Linked DNA regions of Homo sapiens: all the other regions are linked to region 2. Evidence: promoter capture Hi-C in 16 types of primary human blood cells and fetal thymus (Javierre and others, 2016). All regions are on one chromosome and are shown on one strand. The core of a region is centred on a gene start or on the middle of the fragment in contact, and the rest is flanking DNA. Distances in the headings are between cores, read along the strand shown.

Evidence for each region. The method cuts DNA at HindIII sites, captures the fragments that hold promoters and counts their contacts. A CHiCAGO score of 5 or more calls a contact.
Region 1: a contact is called between a fragment that was not itself captured here and the fragment with the promoter of FAM91A1 in region 2, in 2 of 17 cell types (fetal thymus and total B cells). The highest score is 7.9, in fetal thymus.
Region 3: a fragment that was not itself captured here is called in contact with the fragment with the promoter of FAM91A1 in region 2 in 1 of 17 cell types (fetal thymus); the score reaches 5.0 in fetal thymus.
Region 4: a contact is called between a fragment that was not itself captured here and the fragment with the promoter of FAM91A1 in region 2, in 1 of 17 cell types (total CD8 T cells). The highest score is 7.1, in total CD8 T cells.

The regions. Positions count from the first base shown.
Region 1 is chr8:124,367,426-124,370,433 of GRCh38, reverse strand. All of the region lies in intron 1 of TMEM65 (transmembrane protein 65), which reads left to right. Among named protein-coding and RNA genes, the nearest start is that of TMEM65, 3.8 kb to the left of the region's middle. The HindIII fragment of the contact is 332 bases long and covers 1,133-1,464 here.
Region 2 is chr8:123,767,166-123,770,051 of GRCh38, reverse strand. It overlaps FAM91A1 (family with sequence similarity 91 member A1), which reads right to left and starts at 1,613. Exons shown (of 24, transcript NM_144963.4): 1 at 1,278-1,613. The coding sequence starts at 1,349. RefSeq lists a silencer at 1,278-1,427. The HindIII fragment of the contact is 7,175 bases long and covers 735-2,886 here.
Region 3 is chr8:123,246,123-123,249,046 of GRCh38, reverse strand. The region is part of intron 2 of ZHX1-C8orf76 (ZHX1-C8orf76 readthrough); the gene reads left to right. It overlaps ZHX1 (zinc fingers and homeoboxes 1), which reads left to right. Exons shown (of 4, transcript NM_007222.5): 4 at 1-591. Among named protein-coding and RNA genes, the nearest start is that of C8orf76, 6.2 kb to the right of the region's middle. The HindIII fragment of the contact is 2,496 bases long and covers 225-2,720 here.
Region 4 is chr8:123,150,554-123,153,301 of GRCh38, reverse strand. It overlaps TBC1D31 (TBC1 domain family member 31), which reads right to left. Exons shown (of 22, transcript NM_145647.4): 22 at 1,149-1,496. The coding sequence ends at 1,363. Among named protein-coding and RNA genes, the nearest start is that of TRM-CAT1-1, 5.4 kb to the left of the region's middle. The HindIII fragment of the contact is 617 bases long and covers 1,140-1,756 here.

The sequences.
Region 1 (3,008 bases), core at 49-2,548, 600 kb before region 2:
TTCTGAAAATATGCTCCTTGGAAAAATAATATAGTCAGTCATGTACTAGAACATTAACTTTTGAATCTTTCTGCACTGACAAGACTATTTGAACACACATTTTACCTTTTCCAAGTAATTTCTTGGAAATTCTGCATTGTCAACAAGTTACAAGATTGGAGGGCCCTATGAATATAGTTTTGTGGCAGTTCTTGAAAAACATGTCCTGCAAGGTGACTGAATAATTTTTTTCTCATACATTATTATTTTTTACATGCCAGCAGTATTGCAGTAGCAATGCTACATTTCCTAATAAAGATAATATTTTTAAATTTAACGTGGTTTTAAATATTCTGAAAAGGACCTAAGCACTTTAGTCAATGGAGATCATTAGCATCAATTAAACTTAGTTATGTTACTAATATGAGAGAGAAATTAGTAATTTAAATTGTCTTCTTTGCTCAGGAGAAACAGTCAAGGATATTTGAAACAATGGTTAGTCAGATGCTTATCTCTCCTCTTTATATGCTAAAGAACATCAAAGTTTAAATCAGCTATTTTTGCTGATGTCGATGACAAAATGATTGTCCTATGAATCAAATGACACAGATGCTGCTGCTTTGTTAGTGTATGTAGTCTTGGTGTTCACTTACTGTTTTCAGTATCAATACATATAGTTATGGAGATAACTAGAATCATCACTTAGGAAATTACCTTATTCATTAATCATTAAGGTAAAAGGGATTTTATTATGTTGGGAATGCGTACAGCTCATTCCATTGCTGAAATCAACAATTTTTTTCCAGCCAGATAAATGAAAAACTCCCATGTTTTCTTTTATTGTTGCTTTTTGAATAATGTTTTGAAGTACTCAACCGATGTATTGTGTGTGTGTACTAAGTGTACTTTCTAACAAAATTAATTCTATTTAAAGGGCTATTTCTTGCCATAGGCAATCTTGTGTGTCTTTGGAAAGGGTGCTTGTATAAACTAATGAAGTGTTTTGGATTTGGTATGGAAATGTTACTGAAAAAATATCATCCATGCTTTGATATGGCAGTGGAATCTGCTGTTGAAATTTGGCACATTTGCCCTTATCTTTCTTATATGTTTATCAGTAGGCATGTGATATAATCTGTGATGAGATAAAGCTTTGGAATCAGTTCGTAATAGATAAGGCAGACCTTGTGGGATATCTTATCATAGTTAAATAGAATATTGTGATTTTTAAAATTACAAACCAATTTCTTTCCCAATTTAAAAAAAAGTTGAGTTTGCGCCTTCAATTTACCTGCTCAGCCTGATCTCTCTTCTTCCAGAAACAGACCATATTCTGCTGATAGAGCATTATTCATGTTTTTACAAGTAGTACTGGCAAGCTGACATTATTACAGTGGCCTTTCAATGTTAGCCAAAATTTTTAAAACAAATTTTCTTCCCAATTTTTGTAATTAATATTTCCATTTATAATTATTTTTTAAAGCTTTTAAAATATAGCAATTTGGTATTGAAAAATAGACAGTGCTCATTGTATTAGTTATCCATTGCGGTATAACAAATTATCCTAAAACACAGTGGCTTAAAACAAGCATGTATTAACTCATAATTTCTGAGGCTCAGGAATGCTATAGCATCTTAGTTGAGTATTTCTGGCCCAGGATCTTAAGAAGTTGAAATCAAGCTCTCAGCTGGGGTGGCATCATCTGAAGTCTTAACTGGGGCTGGAGGATCCATTTCCAAGAAGTCTCACTCACATGGCTGTTGGCTGGATGTCTCAATTCCCTCCCATGTGGTCCTCCACAGGGCTGCCTGAGTATTCTCATGACATGGCAGTGGGTTTCCTCTAGAGCAAGTGATGAGAGAGCGAGAGAGCAAGAGAGAGCGAGTGTGTTTGCAAGACAGCACCTGTGGGCACCTAAGCTGGAAGCCACAGACTTTTATAACACAGTCTTAGTAGTGACAGTCCATCTCTTTTGTCCTGACACATTGTGGGAGAGTACTACAGAAGGTGTGAATACAAGGGAGTGGGAATCATCGGGGGTACATCTTTGAGGCTGGCTTCCACACTTATTTAAGGTGGTGTAATTAATGCTCATCAGAGAGTTACACAGAGAGACAAGAACTGGCTATTGGAGAGGTAAAATGAGAGATATGTTTTGAAAAAAGGAGCCTCTTAGGGAATATTTTTGTTATAATATGTATACTATAAGCCACAGACTTTTAAAACGCAGTCTTCGAAGTGACAGTCCATCTCTTTTGTCCTGACACATTGTGGGAGAGTACTACACAAGGTGTGAATACAAGGGAGTGGGAATCATCGGGGGTACATCTTTGAGGTTGGCTTCCACATTATTTAAGGTGGTGTAATTAATGCTCATCAGAGAGTTTACACAGAGAGACAAGAACTGGCTATTGGAGAGGTACAATGAGAGATATGTTTTGAAAAAGGGAGCCTCTTAGGGAATATTTTTGTTATAATATGTATACTTAAGATATTTAAAAAATGAGATTGTTTTTACATATAGCAAATAAAAGATGTATTGAGGTGAACAGAGCAGTTTTTCTATCAATGTTAGGTCTCAATTAGCTTGCATTTTTTGATTACTCTATGTGAGTGGTAATTGTGTGCTTTTGACATTTTTTACCATTTATCTACGTCTGTATACATTAACCAAATAATTCTAAACTTTAATCTTGTAGTCCCCCATTTTTTGTGATTGTTTAAGGTAGGGTGAAGAGCTTTGTTTTGAGAACTTGCCATATAGTATAAGAGGACGTTGACAAAATGAAAGACTGAAAGATAAAGAGCTTATACTAAATTGAGTATCTAAAACACTTAAAAATAAATTAGGCTTTCTTATGGAATCCCTGTTCACTAGAGATCTTGGACCTTTAACAAGATTATCCTTATTTTTTTTCAGCCCATTGCTCAGGATTATGTGAGAAAATAGAAATTCTTTTCTTAAATTTTTTTTATTTTTTGAGACAGAGTCTCACTCTGTTGCCCAGGGTGGAGTGCAGTGGTGCGA
Region 2 (2,886 bases), core at 364-2,863:
GAACCCAAGAAGCAGAGTTTGCAGTGAGCGGAGATCACACCACTGCACTCCAGCCTGGGCAACAGGAGACTCTGTCTCAAAGAAATGAAAATAAAAATAAAAATAAATAAATAATCCTTATATACCATCACCGCCACCATTCCAAACTTCCCAAAAATGCCACTGCCGAGTGCCAACAGAAAACTGAATTTCACTCTCGACCAAGTATAATGGGAGGAAGCGAAGGTCAATCTATGACCAGAGCAGCAGTGCGTTATCTGTAGCCCATATCACTACTTTCGTAAGACTTAAAACCATCTGCTATGTTACGTATTTATTCATTTATTTGTTTACGTCTTTCTTTAGTAAAATGTAAGCTCCATGAAGGCAGTCTTTGTCTTGTTGACTGTTGCAAATTACCTGCACCTAGAGCAACGCACAGCACCTAGTAGGTGGTCAATAAATATCTATTAAACAATTGAGTAAAACAGACTAAAAAAATCGAGAATTAACTTTCAAAAACCTCATGTCACTCTTGTTGAAACATCTCTGATAAACCCATCTTGTCTGGAGGATAAAGTCCAACAAAACAAAGCACACAAGCACCTTCAAAATCTGGCCCTGACCACTTTTCCAGGCTCATCTGCTACCAGCCCCGCGCACTCAAAAAACTTCAACTCCAAACATGTCAGTCCAAACTCTGGTGATACAGTCACTTGCTACTCATGAGACATGTTCTTTCACTCATCCAAGCTTTGTAAAATGACTTTCCCTCCCCCTGGAAAAATCTTTATTCCCTCTTATTTAACTCTTATTCGTCCTCCAAGGCCCAATTTAAGTGCCTGCCTTAAAAATCCTTCCAACTCTCCCAGGATAATTTCTCCCTCCCTCTGCTCTCACATATACTACAATGCAGGTGTGTATGAGCTGCTATCATCCTGTATCGTATTCATTTGTTTCCCATCCCTTTCCCACCATCCTGAAATTCCGGAGGTCAAGGACCGTGTTTAAAATCTCTATCGCAGGTGCCTGGCTGAATGTATCCTGCGGGCAAAGGCGCCAGTCGAGTCCTGTGGACACCATGCCATCCCATTTAGCGATCGCCCCGTCCTGGCCCTGTGGCCCCACAGCCGTCCCCTCCTCGCCCTGGGCTGAAGGTCCGTCTCCCCAAGACCACGGAGGAGTAAAGGAAGGGAGTCAGCCGGCAGCAGCCCGCTCGGGCCCCGCGAGCGAGGCAAGCAGGTGACCGCTGGGCGGGCCGAATCCGTCAGGGGCCCGGTCCCAGGTTCCGGCCGTACCTGTCTCACGTTGGCCGGCAACTTGTTCCAGGGGTAGTTGTGCCGGATGTGGAACTCCACGTCTATGTTCATGATGCCGCGGCCAGGGCCGGCGGCCGGGGCCGCCACCGCGACCCACACTACGCCTCCCGCCTGCCCGCCCGCAGCCTGTCAGCGGAGCGACGCGGGAGGCCCCGCGCCTCACACTGCAGAAGGCCCAGGCTGCCCCATGGCCTAGGCTCCCGACAGTTCAGCGCCGCCCGGGCCAACCGAGTACAAGAGCAGCAGCGATTGGAGGCTGGATCGCCTGAACAGCTCCAAGTTTCTTCCTAGTTTCGGGCCGCCGGAAATGGCTCTGGGCACACGTCACTTCCGCCCGCTGGCGCGCGGCCGGAGGGGCGGGGCACGGACTGGCCTCTAGCCACGCCCTCTACAGGCTGCGGGGCGGGGCGACGACGAGGTACCGGGAGGTGCCCGGGTGAGCGTTCCCCGCCCGCGCGCTTCGTCTCCCCGTTTCAGTCTCTGAATGAACGGCGATAGTCGCTTGGGTCTGCGTTGCCGTTGCTGATGACCCAGTTTACTCAAATTGTAAAGCCGGAGGCACTGGGGTCGGTTTTCAGAGAAAAGCGACCTGGGAAGCGGGCCGGCAGTGGCTGGCTTTACATTGGAGTGCGGTGCGCTCGCGGGGGTTCTCCACAGGCCAGCCCGGAACCCGGGCCAGTGAGACGGGGCGGGGGGTTGCGGGGACGGGTCCAGGGCCCTGGAGAAAGAAATAATCTCTAAGTCAGGTCTCGCACCGGGTTGAGCGAGAAGCATGGGCAGTGGGAGAGCAAAGGTCTGGTAAGCCCTCTTCCCTTCCGCGGTGTGCTGCACGTCATTGGGCTCCACTTCCCAAGAAGATCCAAATTCTTACAATGCAGGGATTCAGGGAGCTGAAATTTTAAACAGTGGTGCTGACAGGTCGAGGCAGCCTACAGGGCTGACAGAGAGATACCCTTGCCAACTTTGTCATGCAGCCTGTCGGTTTCTGCTTTATTCTGCTCCACACAAATGCCTCCAGAGTCACTTAAAAGCAAAAATCCAGCATGTCTTAATTTCAGATTGAGTGATAAGGTCTTTGGGAATAATTTCTTTCAGAAGTTGTTACGCTGCCTTAGCAAACCCGTGACCATTATTCCTGGCAGCAACCAGAGACAAGTTCAGTGTTATTGCAACTGTTTTTCAGTTTTTAACAATGGTTTTAAATAATGTTTTATTATATACTGGGAGATGTATACTTAGAACTTTTTATAAGATACCTAGCTCACACCTCAACAGCTGGCAAGTCTGATGCTTAGCAGAAACCCCATTATGTCTGATGAAATAAAGGTGACAAGTACACACTGCCCTTGCTTAGATGTTTTGGTCTCCTATTATCCAACTATAATAACCCAAAGATAAGTGCTTTGAACCTTATGTTTACAGATCCTCATCAGCATAGCTAAGGTTAACTGAACTCTAACCGTGAGACATTTATTCAACAAATATTGATTACCTGCCCGCCATGTATTAAGGCCTTGACTTGACAATAGATTATTCCTCACAACCCTGATATTCCTACAACAGTAACCACTTACTATCCCAGTTTGAT
Region 3 (2,924 bases), core at 223-2,722, 520 kb after region 2:
TGTTTTTCAGCCATTGAAAATGTTATGAAAAAGCCTTGAATATGCATGCTGCTTTCATTTTTATAAACTTTTTATTTTTTAACTATAGCTTTATTAGTAATTCCAAAATGCTGCAATGTAGCTGATTTCCTCACTCAGACAGCTGGCTTTGTGGGTGGCTTTTTTCATACTACTGTTAACTTTTTTAAAAAAGAAGCAATGTAAAGACCGTAATGCACTAAGCTTTTTTTTTTTCTTTTACACGTTTAAAAACTTCTTAAAGCACTCTGTAATATAATGATTAAATTGCTCCCTTTTATAAACATTGCTAATGTGGTCTGAGTTTTGTTTGACAATAATTTTAATGTTCTCAAAATTTGAAATGTCAAGTATTAGAAATGAAGCCTTTGAATATAGTTGTTTCCCTTGCAATATGTTAACTCTGTGTAGCTGTATATAACTATTAATTTCCCTCATCTCTTTTATAGGCCTGATAAAACTCTTCTCTGACGTTTGCTAGCTTTTAAATATATTTATTTGACAGAGCAAAAGAACCCTCTTCTGGTTGATTGTGACCTTGAATACAAAATAAAAGTAGTGATTAGTAGTTTACAGTGACCTTTTTTTTTTCATTTTATTAACAAAGTCAATTTTTAAAACATTGTGGTAAAATATATATCACATACTATTTGCCATTATACCAGTTTTTAAGTGTAAATTCAATGGCATTAATTATATTCACAGTGCTGCACCACCTTCACCACTTTTCCAAAAGTTTTTCATCACCCCAGACAGAAACTCGGAACCATTAAGCAATAACTCCCCATTCCTCCCAGCCCCTGGTAACCTCTAATCTACTTTTTGTCTCTATGAATTTGTGTATTCTTGATATTTCAAAGAAGTAGAATCCTAAAATATTTGCCCTTTTGTGTCTGGCTTATTTTAACTTATAATGTTTTCAAGTTCATCCATGTTTTAGCGTATATCAAGACTTTGTTTCTTTTCATGGCTGATTTATGTTTTATTGTGTGTGTGTGTGTGTGTTTGTCTGTACACGTGCACTTCCTCCCACACACATTTTGTTTATCCATGTATCTGTTGATGGAAACTTGTTTTTTTCCCGCCTTTTGGCAATTGTGAATAATGCTGCGGTGAACATTGGTATACAAGGATCTGAGTACCCATTTTCAGTTCTTTTGAGTATATCAAGGAGTAGTATTCCTGAATCATGTGGTATTCTGTGTTTAATTTGTTGAGGAACCACCAAACTCTTCCACAGTGCTAAAATGTTCTCTGAAGCATCTGTACCATTTTACGTTCCACTAGCAATATACAAGCATTCCAGTTTCTCCACATTTTTGCCAACACCTTTCATTTTCAGTTTTAAAAAGTGATTATAAGCCCAGTGCGATGGTCTGTGTCTGTAGTCCCAGCTACCAGGGAGGCTGAGGTGGGAGGATCACTTGAGCCTAGGTATTTGAGGCCAGTGAGAGCAATATAGTGAGACCCCATCTCTAAAAATAAAATAATAAAAATTATAACCATCCTAGTAAGTATGAAGTGGTGTCTCATTGTGGTTTTGATTTGTGTTTCCCTAATGATGAGTGATAATGTCATTAGGAAAATGCAAATCAAAACTACATCTTTTCACATAATTATTTGTATATCTTCCTTTGAATATATTGAAAGTTTGTTCAATCCTTTGCCCAGTTTTTAATTGGGTTGCCTTTTTGTTGCTGAGTTTTAGTTCTTTATATATTCTGGATGTTACAGCTTTATCAGATACAGTTGCTTCTTGACTTAGAATGGGGTTTGTCCTGATAAACCCATTGTAAGTTAAAATTTTTGTAAGTTGAAAATCCATTTAATACCCTGATGAACTCACCATAAACTTGAACTATCATAAACTATTACTATTTTTTGAGACAGAGTCTCTGTTGCCCAGGCTGGAGTGCAGTGGCACCATCTTAGTTCACTGCAACCTCTGCCTCCTTGGTTCAAGCGATTCTCATGCCTCAGCCTCCCAAGTAGCTGGGATTACAGGTGCCCGCCACCATGCCCATCTAATTTTTATATTTTTAGTAGAGACGGGGTTTCACCATGTTGGCCAGATTGGTCTCAAACTCCTGACCTCAGGTGATCCACCCACCTCAGCCTCCCAAAGTGCCAGGATTACAGGCATGAGCCACTGCACCTGGTCACAATCATAAATTATAAATCCATGTGTTTCTCAGTTTACTATGGGGTTAGGTTACCATGGGATTATGTGTTAGTAAATCCATCTTAAGTCCATCATAAGTTGGGGACTGTCTGTATTATGATTTGCAAATAAGTTGATCCTCATTATGGATTCTGTATATGCAAATTTGCCTACACATTAAAATGTATTTGTAACCCCCAAATCAGTATTCATAGTACTTCCTTGGTCATTCCTGCACATGTACAGAATGGCAACAAAAAGATGTTCCCAGCAAAGGTCAACCAAAGAGATGCTTTGCCTTGTTTCAGGTCTCATACTGTAGAGAAGTGTGTGTGTGTGTGTGTGTGTGTGTGTGTGTGTGTGTGTGTCCATAGGAATGAAAAAGCATCCTTTTGTAGTCTATTTAGTGCTGTGTTTTCCATATTTTTCTGCTTTCTGCAGTTTAAAATGGTCCCAAGTGTAGTGCTGAAGTGTTGTCAGTGTTTCTAAATATTAGAAGGCTGTCATGTGCCCTATGGAGAAAATATGCGTTAGATAAGCTTCATTCAGGCATGAGTTACAGTGCTGTTAGTCATGAGTTCAGTGTTAATCAATCAACAGTATTAAATAAGGTGTCTTTAAACAGAAAAATACAAAACATGGTGATGTTTTGATTGATTGATAAATATATTGTGACCAGAGGCTCCCAGGACCCTAACCCTAGGAGCATGTGTTCAGGATTTGCTAATTCAGTGTGACTTTATAG
Region 4 (2,748 bases), core at 199-2,698, 620 kb after region 2:
CTGCAATAGACAGCTGTTTCTGGGTGGCAGAACCACAGAATTTTAGAATTTCAATGCTTTCCGGTGAGCAGGCAATTCTAGTCTACCAAAGTTCCCATCACACTCTACATATTCTATATCCTGGGATTCCTGTTGTCAAAAAACACACACCAGCTTGGCCCATGCAGGCATATGTTTGCAGTCACCTAAAAACGTATGGAAAACTAGGCTGAGAAAAATACTCTTGGGAAACCAATGCCGTGTATAATGCCAGGAGATCATTTTAGAACTTTGCTTATTGGGCAAGAGAGCACTTTGCTGAAAATATTTGATAAACCATAAGATTATGCTTCGTGGCCCCAGAAAAAATAATTAGTACTACATATTATATACTTACTATGTGTCAAGCACTGGGCCAGGAACTTTTTAGGCCTGATCTTTGTTTTTGTTTTGAGATGGAGTCTCACTCTGTTGCCCAGGCTGGAGTGCGGTGGCGTGATCTCGGCTCACTGCAACCTCCGCCTCCTGGGTTCAAGTGATTCCCCTCCCCCTGCCTTCCAAGTAGCTGGGATTACAGGCATGTGCCACCACACTCGGCTAATTTTTCTATTTTTAGTAGAGAAAGGGTTTCACCATGTTGGCCAGGCTGGTCTCGAACTCCTGACCTCAAGTGATCCACCCACCGCAGCCTCCCAAAGTGCTGGGATTACAGGTGTGAGCCACCACGTCTGGCCTGCCTGATCTTACTGAATCGTCATATCAAGTATTTCTACCCTCCTTTTAGAGAGTAAGGTTCAGGAAGTCACAAGCAGCCCCACTCTGGAGCTAGGAAGTGGAGGGAGGGAGGAAGAGCAGTCGGTGCTGCCAGAAGAAGCAGGCAGAGGGCAGAAGGAGCTGGGCAGAGATGAGATGTTACAAGTCCGGTGGGGTCCCTGACAAAGAGGGGGTCCCGCTGGCAGAGGCGGGGGTGGGCAGGAAGATGGTGATATAGGCCACTCCACGCTGCTGGCGCTCTCCACCTGCTGCTGAGTTCTCCCTCAGTCCAGGCTATAGAGCTGTTGAGATGGTTTCCTGTTCTTTATTTCTCTATTCATCTTTAAGATAAACCTTTATCAACTAAAGTTACTGAGGTTTATGCTGGTCCCTGCAACCTGAAAGCTTAACACAGCTTTAACAGTTTCTAAAACATTTTTATTGTAAAAAGTTCAAGAAGCCATTTACAAGCCAAAAAGTATCAGAATTAAATAACACATAATTTTTATAGACACATTTTTCTGTACAAAGGGCTGATCTTTATAGGAATTTTAAATAAATAATCTAAAAATCAATGTCACTGATTGCAAAATAGGTCTCTCTCTCGACCGTCTCAAGGTGACATGCATTCTATGCAGCCAAAAGATGAGGGGTTTGACATCTGTGACGAGCCCGGGCAGTGAGTCTCTGGCGAAGATTTCTCACTTTCTTAATAAGATTCTGTCCCGTGGTGTCCCATTCTACTGCTCTTCTATTTAAAGAAACTTGAAAACGAAATTTAAAATTTAGAAAAGCTGAGTTTTCTGATGTTAGCGGTGATACAGCATTTATTTTAAAGATAAATGTGTTGTAAAAACAAATAATGAAATGCAATTCTAAAACCTAAATTTTACATATAACCTGGCCCTAGGTGGTTCCATTTACAAGCCAAATAATTATTTGTTGGACTGAATGAATGCTAACAGAGAACTTCTCTGCTTTGAAATACTTGGGATACAAACAATCTTAAGTTAGAAACAAAGCTTGTTAATTTAAGAGAGAATTTGAGTTTGTGCAACTGTAAGCTTCCTCACAATGATGCTTAATAGTAATGAGAAAAGGCATTCCAAGTCATAAAACTGTGAAATATACACCATGATTACCTTTCCAATAAATAAATAAAAATAAGTAAATCAAATGCTTTTTAATATTGGCTAATATCAGGAAGGTCCAGAATCAAGATTAAAATACTACAACATGTCCAAGTGTAAGAGCGTTACTGATTTAGAGGGGCTAGTGAACACTGAAATTTTTTTTAAAAGCCCTTAAAAATATACTTCTCTGAAATTTAGTTACATATTCAAATAGTCAGTCAGCTTCAATTTCTGAAAAACTGTTTTTCCTCCCAAAGAAATACAACTTTCATGCTTTTGTATTTTGCTGCCAAATAACCATTTGATATGTCAGAATAGAGAGTAGCTGAGAATCTCTCATACTTCATCTGACTCTTGAATGATTTTTGGTTTAATTCATATTCTGGCACAGAATTTATAGATGCATATAAAAATGTGAGTTAGCAAAAATATTTTACACAATACTGGAATCTCATGACTTGGTATTAGGCATATTTCTTATAAAGCTCGTCTTTTTGGGACATTGTATAAAAGTTTGTTCTTCCAAAAGAAGTCAAAAGATCTTGTTAAATACTGCTTCATCTATATGGCAATTTTATTGAAAAAAAATAGTTGAAAGTAAGTTTAACAGAGTGTCTTTTCTCCTCCTCCCTTTTAAAAATAAATAATATACTTTACTGGGAAGATTGTTAGCTTCTTTATGGATGGCCTAATGCTGTGATTACATTTCTGTAAGATGTTTCTACCCTGTCCCTTCTAAAAAACCCCAAACCCTCCAATGAACCACGTCCAGGGATCAAAAGTCAGCTCATCAGCATGAAGCCATTTGCCTTTGGCCATTCTACTGCTGCTGGGGCCCAGAATTCCATCGGAGTGCCCAGGGCAGACACATGTTTTCAATGGT